3 separate regions of the Homo sapiens genome follow, and all the other regions are linked to region 1. The links are contacts of gene promoters, found by promoter capture Hi-C in human tissues and cell types (Jung and others, 2019). All regions are on one chromosome and are shown on one strand. Each heading gives the region's core, a stretch centred on a gene start or on the middle of the fragment in contact. The rest is flanking DNA. Distances are from core to core; before and after follow the strand shown.

Evidence for each region. The method cuts DNA at HindIII sites, captures the fragments that hold promoters and counts their contacts. A contact is called where the count stands out against the background at its distance.
Region 2: a fragment that was not itself captured here is called in contact with the fragment with the promoter of SPATA8 in region 1 in 1 of the 25 tissues and cell types used here (hippocampus).
Region 3: a fragment that was not itself captured here is called in contact with the fragment with the promoter of SPATA8 in region 1 in 3 of the 25 tissues and cell types used here (H1 embryonic stem cells, adrenal gland and heart right ventricle).

Annotation. Positions count from the first base shown.
Region 1 is chr15:96,782,131-96,784,830 of GRCh38, reverse strand. SPATA8 (spermatogenesis associated 8) reads right to left here and starts at 1,396. Exons shown (of 3, transcript NR_158223.1): 1 at 1,242-1,396; 2 at 572-678. It overlaps SPATA8-AS1 (SPATA8 antisense RNA 1), which reads left to right and starts at 1,494. Exons shown (of 4, transcript NR_102753.1): 1 at 1,494-1,655. The HindIII fragment of the contact is 9,916 bases long and covers 1-2,700 here.
Region 2 is chr15:96,817,942-96,820,657 of GRCh38, reverse strand. No RefSeq gene overlaps it. Among named protein-coding and RNA genes, the nearest start is that of SPATA8, 36 kb to the right of the region's middle. The HindIII fragment of the contact is 4,527 bases long and covers 1-2,716 here.
Region 3 is chr15:96,746,152-96,748,851 of GRCh38, reverse strand. No RefSeq gene overlaps it. Among named protein-coding and RNA genes, the nearest start is that of SPATA8-AS1, 36 kb to the left of the region's middle. The HindIII fragment of the contact is 4,057 bases long and covers 1-2,700 here.

The DNA.
Region 1 (2,700 bases), core at 147-2,646:
TGGGTACGTGAGTGATTGTCCAAGGCCCATCCAGCCACTCTGGGGACAGCATGCATCGCTGTTGGCACAAACCCATAACCCATGCTGACCGAGAAGCTGCAGAATGATGCTGCCATTCCAAAGGGACAACAGGAGAGAAGTTGTGATCAAAGGCAAAAATAGAGACAAAGGACAGGAGCCTACCTAGGATAAGAAAGGCCAGAGTGAGCTTGGAGAGGGCAGAGGCTGAAGGAAGGGAGGAGGCTCAGTAGTGGGCAGCTGACTATGCCTTGAGCTATCACCGAAGAGACTCGTCTGGTTTACACTTCTTAAAGGAGAATACGCACCATCTCAGGAAAAGGGAGCAATGAGTAAATATGCACGAGCAGCACTTGGGAGTGAGGAAGGGGGCAGCCAAGGCACTGGAGAGGCTGAACTCTGGATCTCCTAACAAATGAATGGGGTCCTCCGTCTCATCCCTCCCACCATCCCCGGCAGCACCCATCCAGGTTCAGGAAATGGAGAAGGGAGGAAGTCAAGAAACTGGAGTGTTGGCTTTTGAGGCACAGACTCAGCCCTGCCACCTACTTACCTTCCTTTGCAGGCCACACCGGGCCCTTGAGGCCTCCTGGGCCACCCTTGAAAGGCCTCCAGCCGCAGGGACATGTCATGGCTTCTGAGAAATGTCGCGACGAGGTTCTGCAGAAGAGAACACAGGGGTGTCAGGATGTCCCCTCAGCATCAGGAGCCCACATTGAGTGAGAGCCTCATAGAGTTGGATTTTGGGAAAAGCTCATCTCCGGCTTGAGTGGGAGGTGCCTCAGGGCTGGGATCTCTTCATGCCATTTGGGGAATCTAGGGTGTTTTCAGCTCCTTTCGCCAACCCTTCCAGCCTCCCCAAGTGCACAGGGGCTGCTCCTCTTGCCCTTACCACCTGCCTCTCATGCCTGGCCCCAGCCACCGGTCTGAAGGGGCTCTGACAATTCACATTAAGAGAATTAGGAATGCTGCAATTTCATACCTGTCTTCCCACAAAGAAATGGTAGCCTAATAGGAGTCAGACCTACATCTGGAGTTGAAAACTGCCAAGGGCAGGACATCAGATACCTAGGACAAGGCAGCCTCTGAAAAGAGGGGGCAATTTCCTGGTAGAGACAGGAGTTGTCCTGGGCCCCTGACATCCCAGCCGGGGCCATTCCTCATGCCCTTCCTTCCCCGAGGCCCAGGCTGCCACTAAAGACAATTATCCCAGAAAGACACACAAGTGGATCCCTGGGCTTAGCGGAGATGGAGCAGCCTGGTCTGAACAAGATGCATGGGCTGGCCTTTTAGACGCCCCTTCTTCAGGAGAGTCCTGCACTCAGGAACTACATGGGAGAAGTGAAGTGGGTGCTCCAAAGAGCAACTGCCAGCACATGCTCGGAACCCTGTGGGCTGCCCCAGAAGCCCCAACGGACGCAACTGCCACTGGGCGGGTGGGGGAGGGGTGGCAGCTTGGGCAGCCAAGGGGCCCCGTCTCCTACAAACCTCCTGCACACCTGGGGAAGGCAGCAGCTCTGGGGTCTGCAGGGGGGCACCTCATGGTTCCCAACTCTCCTAGAAGCAAAAAGGGATTCAAAGAGGCCCACTTGATAACCTGTCAGGCTGCATAGCAGTGAGGCTTCCTCCTTTAGTAGGTTCTTGAAATTGTATATCTATATACAAATAGATAAATATACATATACAATATACAGGGTGGCTGCAGGTTTGCTACAACAAGGCAGTGGGTGAAGGTGACGGGTGTGCAGTTGTGGACTCTGGAACCCCCCAAGGGGCTCCCCTGCTGGATGCAGAGCTGGAGCCTTTGGGCGGCTGACCAAGACAAAAGGGAAGAGGGATGAGACAGAAAGCAGGGCCGCAAGGATGCAAGGCCTTGTCTACTAAGTCCTGCTGTCCCATGTAGGCCATCACCCCTGACCTATCTGAGCCTCAGTTTCTCTGAAAGGAAAATGGGTCATCAAGAGACAAATACACAAGAGGAAAGGAGAAATCATGAGGGCAAAATGTCCAGGGTGAATGGAGGGAAGGAAAAAGTTACGGAGATCAAGTAGAACCACAGACAGGAGAGAGCCTTTGGCGAGACAGGGGCAGAGAGGTAAAAGAGAGGGGAAGTGATGGGAAGCCAAGAAGAATTGGGTGGCAAGGAGGAGGAAGCTGAGAGTGGAATGGTAGAGACCTGGGGGAGGTAGAATCAGGAACCAGGGCTGAAATGCAGAAGAAACAGCTTACTGGACCAGTCAGGGTTGGCTGGGTGGACCTGGGATGTGCAAGGTATTTTCTCGTTCCAGTCAGAGGCAGGAGACAGGGAGTGAAGGGCGCCAGCTAAGGCAGGACAGGAGGAGGACAGAAAGCCCAAAGTGTCCTTCTCCTGTCCCCTCATCCTCTCTCTCTCCAGCCCTCCCAAAAGCCTTGCCCCAGAAACAAGGGAATGGAACCCAGGAAGGTGAAGTAGACGGATGGGGTCTGGGCATCCTTTCCAGAGAGAAATGATAGCTTAACAGTGATCAGCTGAATGGCCAGGAAACACCCCCATAATGGTGGAGGGCTGAGCATCCAGTACTGTAGCCTAGGGGAAGGGGACAGGCTTGAGATCTTCCCAGACTCCTCAGACTCTAGCCGAGGTCTCCTGTCCATGGAAGCTCAGGTGTGAGGGAGACTCAGAAATGGCTCCCAGGTGGAGAA
Region 2 (2,716 bases), core at 202-2,701, 36 kb before region 1:
ATAAACTGAAAAAAAAATCTTGTTTAGATAAAACATCTGAATTCTGCTTTCTGAGGGAAATATTATGCATAATTATTTCCCATTATGGGATTTCATTTGTTTTCAAAGGACCAATTCTAAAATTTGAATTTGCATACCAGCAAGCTAAATTTTTTACAAATCTCACCCTGAAATTCAAGTCCCTTGTTCTACCAGGGAAGCAATTAAGGTCCAATCATTTTTAATGCATCATAAATAATCTTCACACTTGCTGTTAAGTTAATTAATATAATCAGTACAACCAAATGCATCAAAATGAAGCTTATTTTGCAAACATGCAAAACGTTCTGCCTCATTGCCCAACTACCAAGATTAAATGACATTTTGCTAACAACTTTTTCCAAAGTGAGTCCAAATTTCATCTTTTAAAAGGGATCACCAGAAATAATACAACTATGTTGATATATATTCAGAATGACTAGCCAGTGGAAGTGTTGGTGATGGTGTCTCGTCCACCCCATTACACCTAAGTGCACTGAGATTCATTCAAGTTAGAGGATTTGATTTTTTTAAATACATGATAAACAACAACATCATTAAGGCATTATAATATGTCTTCATTTGTACCTCATTTTTTTCCAATAAGGATTTGAGACTGTTTACAAACACTCATCTAGCAAGAGAGATACAGATGTTCTTTGACTTATGATGGGGTTACAGACTGATAAACCCATCATAGGTTGAGAATATACTAAGAAATGAAAAGCATTTAATATAACTTGCCTACCAAACATCACAGCTTAGCGTAGCCTTCCTTAAACATGCTCAGAACACTTACATTAGCCTACAGGTGGGCAAAATAATTTAATACAAAGCCTATTTTATAATGAAGTATTGAGTATATCATGTAATTTATTGAAGACTGTACTGAAATTTAAAGCCACAATGGTTATATGGGTATTTGAAGTATGGTTTCTACTGAACACATATCGCTTTTAAACCGTCTTAAAGTCAAAAAATTCTGAGTCCAACCATCTTAAGTCGGGGACCATCTGTATAAGCAAGTCAGAAAATAAGAACAAAAGGGGTATAATCCCCACCACAGCCAGACTTACTAAACATCTGCAGAACAAACTAACACACTAGAATTTTGAGACTTAATGCTACATCTCCCAATGTGGCAGCATTTGTACCTACCTATCAGTCTTCCTAATCATTGTGACCTCCAGCCTAATTCACATGTTAGTATTTGCCAAGCTGGAAGTTCTTTCACAGGGAGATGAACAACCTGGAACATTTAGATCTCAGAAGGCATCCCCATCTTATCCATAAAAGTTCCTACCCCTTCATTATCCTCAGATTTCCTTTCTGATGGCCCAGACCCTCATATGGCCTCAACTCATGTCACCCCATCCTCATCCACTGTAAACCATTATGATTTCCTTGATATTGAGTCTTTCCCCAGGATATAGCCTATTCAGGTAACCTCACCAGATAAGTCAATAAATTACTTTATTCTTCAGTTTTATCTGCCCATCTGTGTGGTATCTGCAAATTAGTAATCAAGAAACCATTTTACAGTAATCGCAAGTGGTTCCATTTCCTCCAACTCTCAGACGTGTTGAAACACGCCCTCCAACAAGATAAATTTCCTTTCCATGGAGTAGAGGCAGAGACAGAATTTCTAAGAACAGATAGCAACATGGTGAAGAATGACGGCCTTTCTCTCCTGATACCTACATAGTAATAATAATAATGATTGTGTAGCTACCAAAAGCAACTATACCAGGAGAGGAAAATGTACTCCTATCAAAAACTCAAAAGGTGAAGTGATGAGAAGAGGTAGAAGTTTCTAGTGCAATTTGAGAAAGATGGCTGTGGTGCCTATCAATTTGGCTCCCAGAAATGCTACCAAAATATTGTATTGTATACTTTTGCAATTTTGTACTTTAGCTAAAACAGAAGAGACTGTAGACTGTGGGTATGTCTTTCCCTGTCGATTTCATTTACCTGAAAAGGGGAAAAAGATCCTTGGAAGGGATGAAAACAGGAAACAGTTCCCTGGAGTGAAATTAAGCAAGTAAACAACTGGGACTAACTCTGAAAAACCCATAGGCTCAGAGCTCCACACTTCCCTGATGAAGTGATCTGAATTATATCCAATTATATCCCAGCCCCACTTGCTAGCTGCAATAACCCTGGTACCAGAAAGTCAAAAAAATTCAGAAAGGAATACAGAGCCTAATTCTGAAAGCAAAGCCCCAGCTTTCAGCTTTACTTAAGGGACGTGGCTTTTCCTTCTCCCTGAACCTATCCTCGATTAGTCTATGGAAAACTTAGCACAGAGAAAATAAACATGAATCAGAGAAGATTAGAAGTGAGTCCAAGGGTATTCACCCATGCTATATCAGAGCAAGTAGAAATCCAGAGAGAGCCTCATTCTACCAACATGATAAAAATAAATGACATGGAAATATGCACGCATTCTACTGAAAAAAAGAGAGAGAAGAAAATGGAAACTTCCACGTAGGAGGCAAATGTAGAACCCAGTCTATAAAACAGTTGACAAAATGCACAGTAGACAATTTTCTACTACTGTTTGATGCAATAGAAAAACAACAATAATATAAATTCAATTAAACTGGAGCTCAACACTTAAATGATAAAATAACAATGAGATGTAAGGAGGGCTTCTGAGTAAAATTAACTGAAGACTAAAATTACACCATTAATAAAT
Region 3 (2,700 bases), core at 184-2,683, 36 kb after region 1:
AGTGTTTTGTGTCTCATCATGCACAAAAAAATTGTAACTATGAGGAGATATGTTAATTAGCTTGATTGTGGTAATCATTTCACAATGTATATGTATATCAAAATATCAGGTTTATACGTTAAATATGTACAATTTTTACTTCTTAATTATACCTCAGTAAAGCTGGAAAAATATCTTACTATCTTATATGTGACCAGTAGCAGATCAACATACAAAATACAAAATAAAAAATAAAGCATTTGTTCAAAATAATGCAGAATGTTTATCCTTACAAGAAGTGAATATTAAAAGATATTGCAGCATGTTCAAAAGATATATCTTGTTTGTATTATTGACACTGTTATGGTTGTTCGATATCATAGTAGTCTACATGATCATTTGACCACTGATTACACACTAAGGTCAGAAAGTAACCACTCAGATATTCATTCAGCTTTCCAAAGGCCCCAGGTCAAGACAAAACCAAATTGTCAATATGGGCAGAATATCAGAACCATGGCTGAACATTTGAGCAGCCCTAATGTAAATGCATGTGTGTTTGTATGTGTGTATATATGTGGCCGCAGATAGATGATAGGTAGGTTAAAAGACAAACTGCATCATCTCTTAAAGCTAGTAAGGATTTAATGTTGTCGTTTTCTTTGAACATCTTGCTTAAATGTTTAATTAGAGTTATTATGTCTAAACAAAACCCAACATCATGTACAATAATAAAACGCTAGGATCCCAGATAAACTCAGGACCCATTTAAAAATGTCCGCTCACCATTGTTGTTTAACCAGTCACATTATTTAACCAGACAGGAAAGTAATGTCTGGTCAGGGCCAAGGTAGTCAAGGGCCTGCCTGGGTAAGTCTATGTTGCGTGGTCTCTGTTTGGAAGCTGAGGGTGTTTGGTCCATTACGGCTGTCAGGACAACCCATGCTCACTAAGCTAATGGAAACCAAAGTCTCATAAAAGAAAATGTAACACTTCAACATTTTCTTCTATTTGTTTGTTTATTGTTTTAGAGTTTTTATCTTTCTATTACATAAGAAATGGAGCTTTAGGTTCACATTAAGTATGAAATATATAGAGCAAAATTCTTGCTACACCCGTTTTATAAAATAATGATCAATATTTGTACCAAATGCTTCTCTCATTTATTCCTCACAAAAAAATTACATGCAACATGAATTAGTAAGTTACATTTCATAGATAAGGAAATCAAAGCTACAATTTGCCCAACATCTCACCATAGTTAGACACAGGCCATCATACTTCAAATCTGCATCTTCCCTACTCTTCCCTGATGCCCGTTGGTCATGTTCGCACCTGTTTTCCTTGGCACAAGGTCTGCATAGCTTAATAGAGCAGTGAGGTCCCTGAAAGTCAGAGGACTTGCTGGGGTTTATGCCAGAGCAAAGTTCCATGCATTTCTCAAGACACTTGCTCGGTGCAGCACCTGACTTTATCCTAGAGCAGGGGCTATCGCTCCTGGCAGCCCAGCAACCACACTAAGCTCAGCCTCTGCACAGCCCTGGACTTCTTCCACCCTCTCTCCATTTCTGTAATTACCTCTAAATTTAACACATGGTCATTAATGATGGTGCCTATGAGAATATGATAATATTTTCCTTCCTTTATTGGATAAGTCCATCTGCCTGTCTTTCCCTACATTTTTAACAAGTGCAGCCTTAGATTAGCAAACCATGGGTTTTTTTTCCTGACCCCAGCTTCCATGCAAAGCTTCTGGCTTTCTCTATTCTAAAGTTCACTGAAGTATTTTTCTGCTTTCCTGCAGTTTTTAAGTAGATAATAAGTTCCAAAATTCACCAGCCTTTCGCTGAAAGAAGCTTGTCACGGTGGTTGGTAGCTAATGAAGGCCCCTTTAGTTTATCTTCATCAATTGTCAAATATTTGAGTCCGTGAAGTGGTGTGATGAGGTACAAAGACAGATATTTGAAGGGATTTTAACTCATTTGAGCAATTACATGCTTAACTGCCCTGCAATAATCTGTCAGTCTGAGTCTTTTCTACACAGCACAAGTGGGGAGCGTTAGAATAGCTGGATTTAGAACATAAAGGCTTAGTCTGAATGGAAGAAAGGCACCAGAGAGATTAATTGCCAGTAACAAACAGCAGGGCTGCTTGCAAGTTATATATCACATAGTTACCTACCAGCAGTGATGGGGGCCAGCTCACAGAGAGCAGCCCGGGTTGGGACAAAACAACCTCTGCACAGAATCCTGAGCACTGCCACCAATTTGCAGGGAGGTAGAGAATTCCATTTCTTAAAAGTATATACTTGCATGTAACGTACACACACATTCATACATGCAATAAAAGCATAATATTGAAAAGTAGCAGCTTTTGTGGACAAACTCATGAATTTAGAGGCTCCTTCTCAGGCTGTTCATCTAATAGTCAACTGAGATTGCTAACCCATCATCCCCACATGATAACAGTGTGATTTATTCAAGTACTACAAATTAAAATAAATAGCAATGACCAGAAAGCCAAAAATGATTTCAAAAAAGAACAAATCACTAGCTGATTTCAAAACTTACCATAAGCCACAGTCATCAAGACAGTGTCGTGTTGGTATAACTGTAGACATACAGACCAATGGAACAGAATAAAATCTCTACATAAAATAAAGAAAATAATTTCATGAACGAATTTCCAGCCTAAAAAAACAAACATCAGGGAAATGGGTTT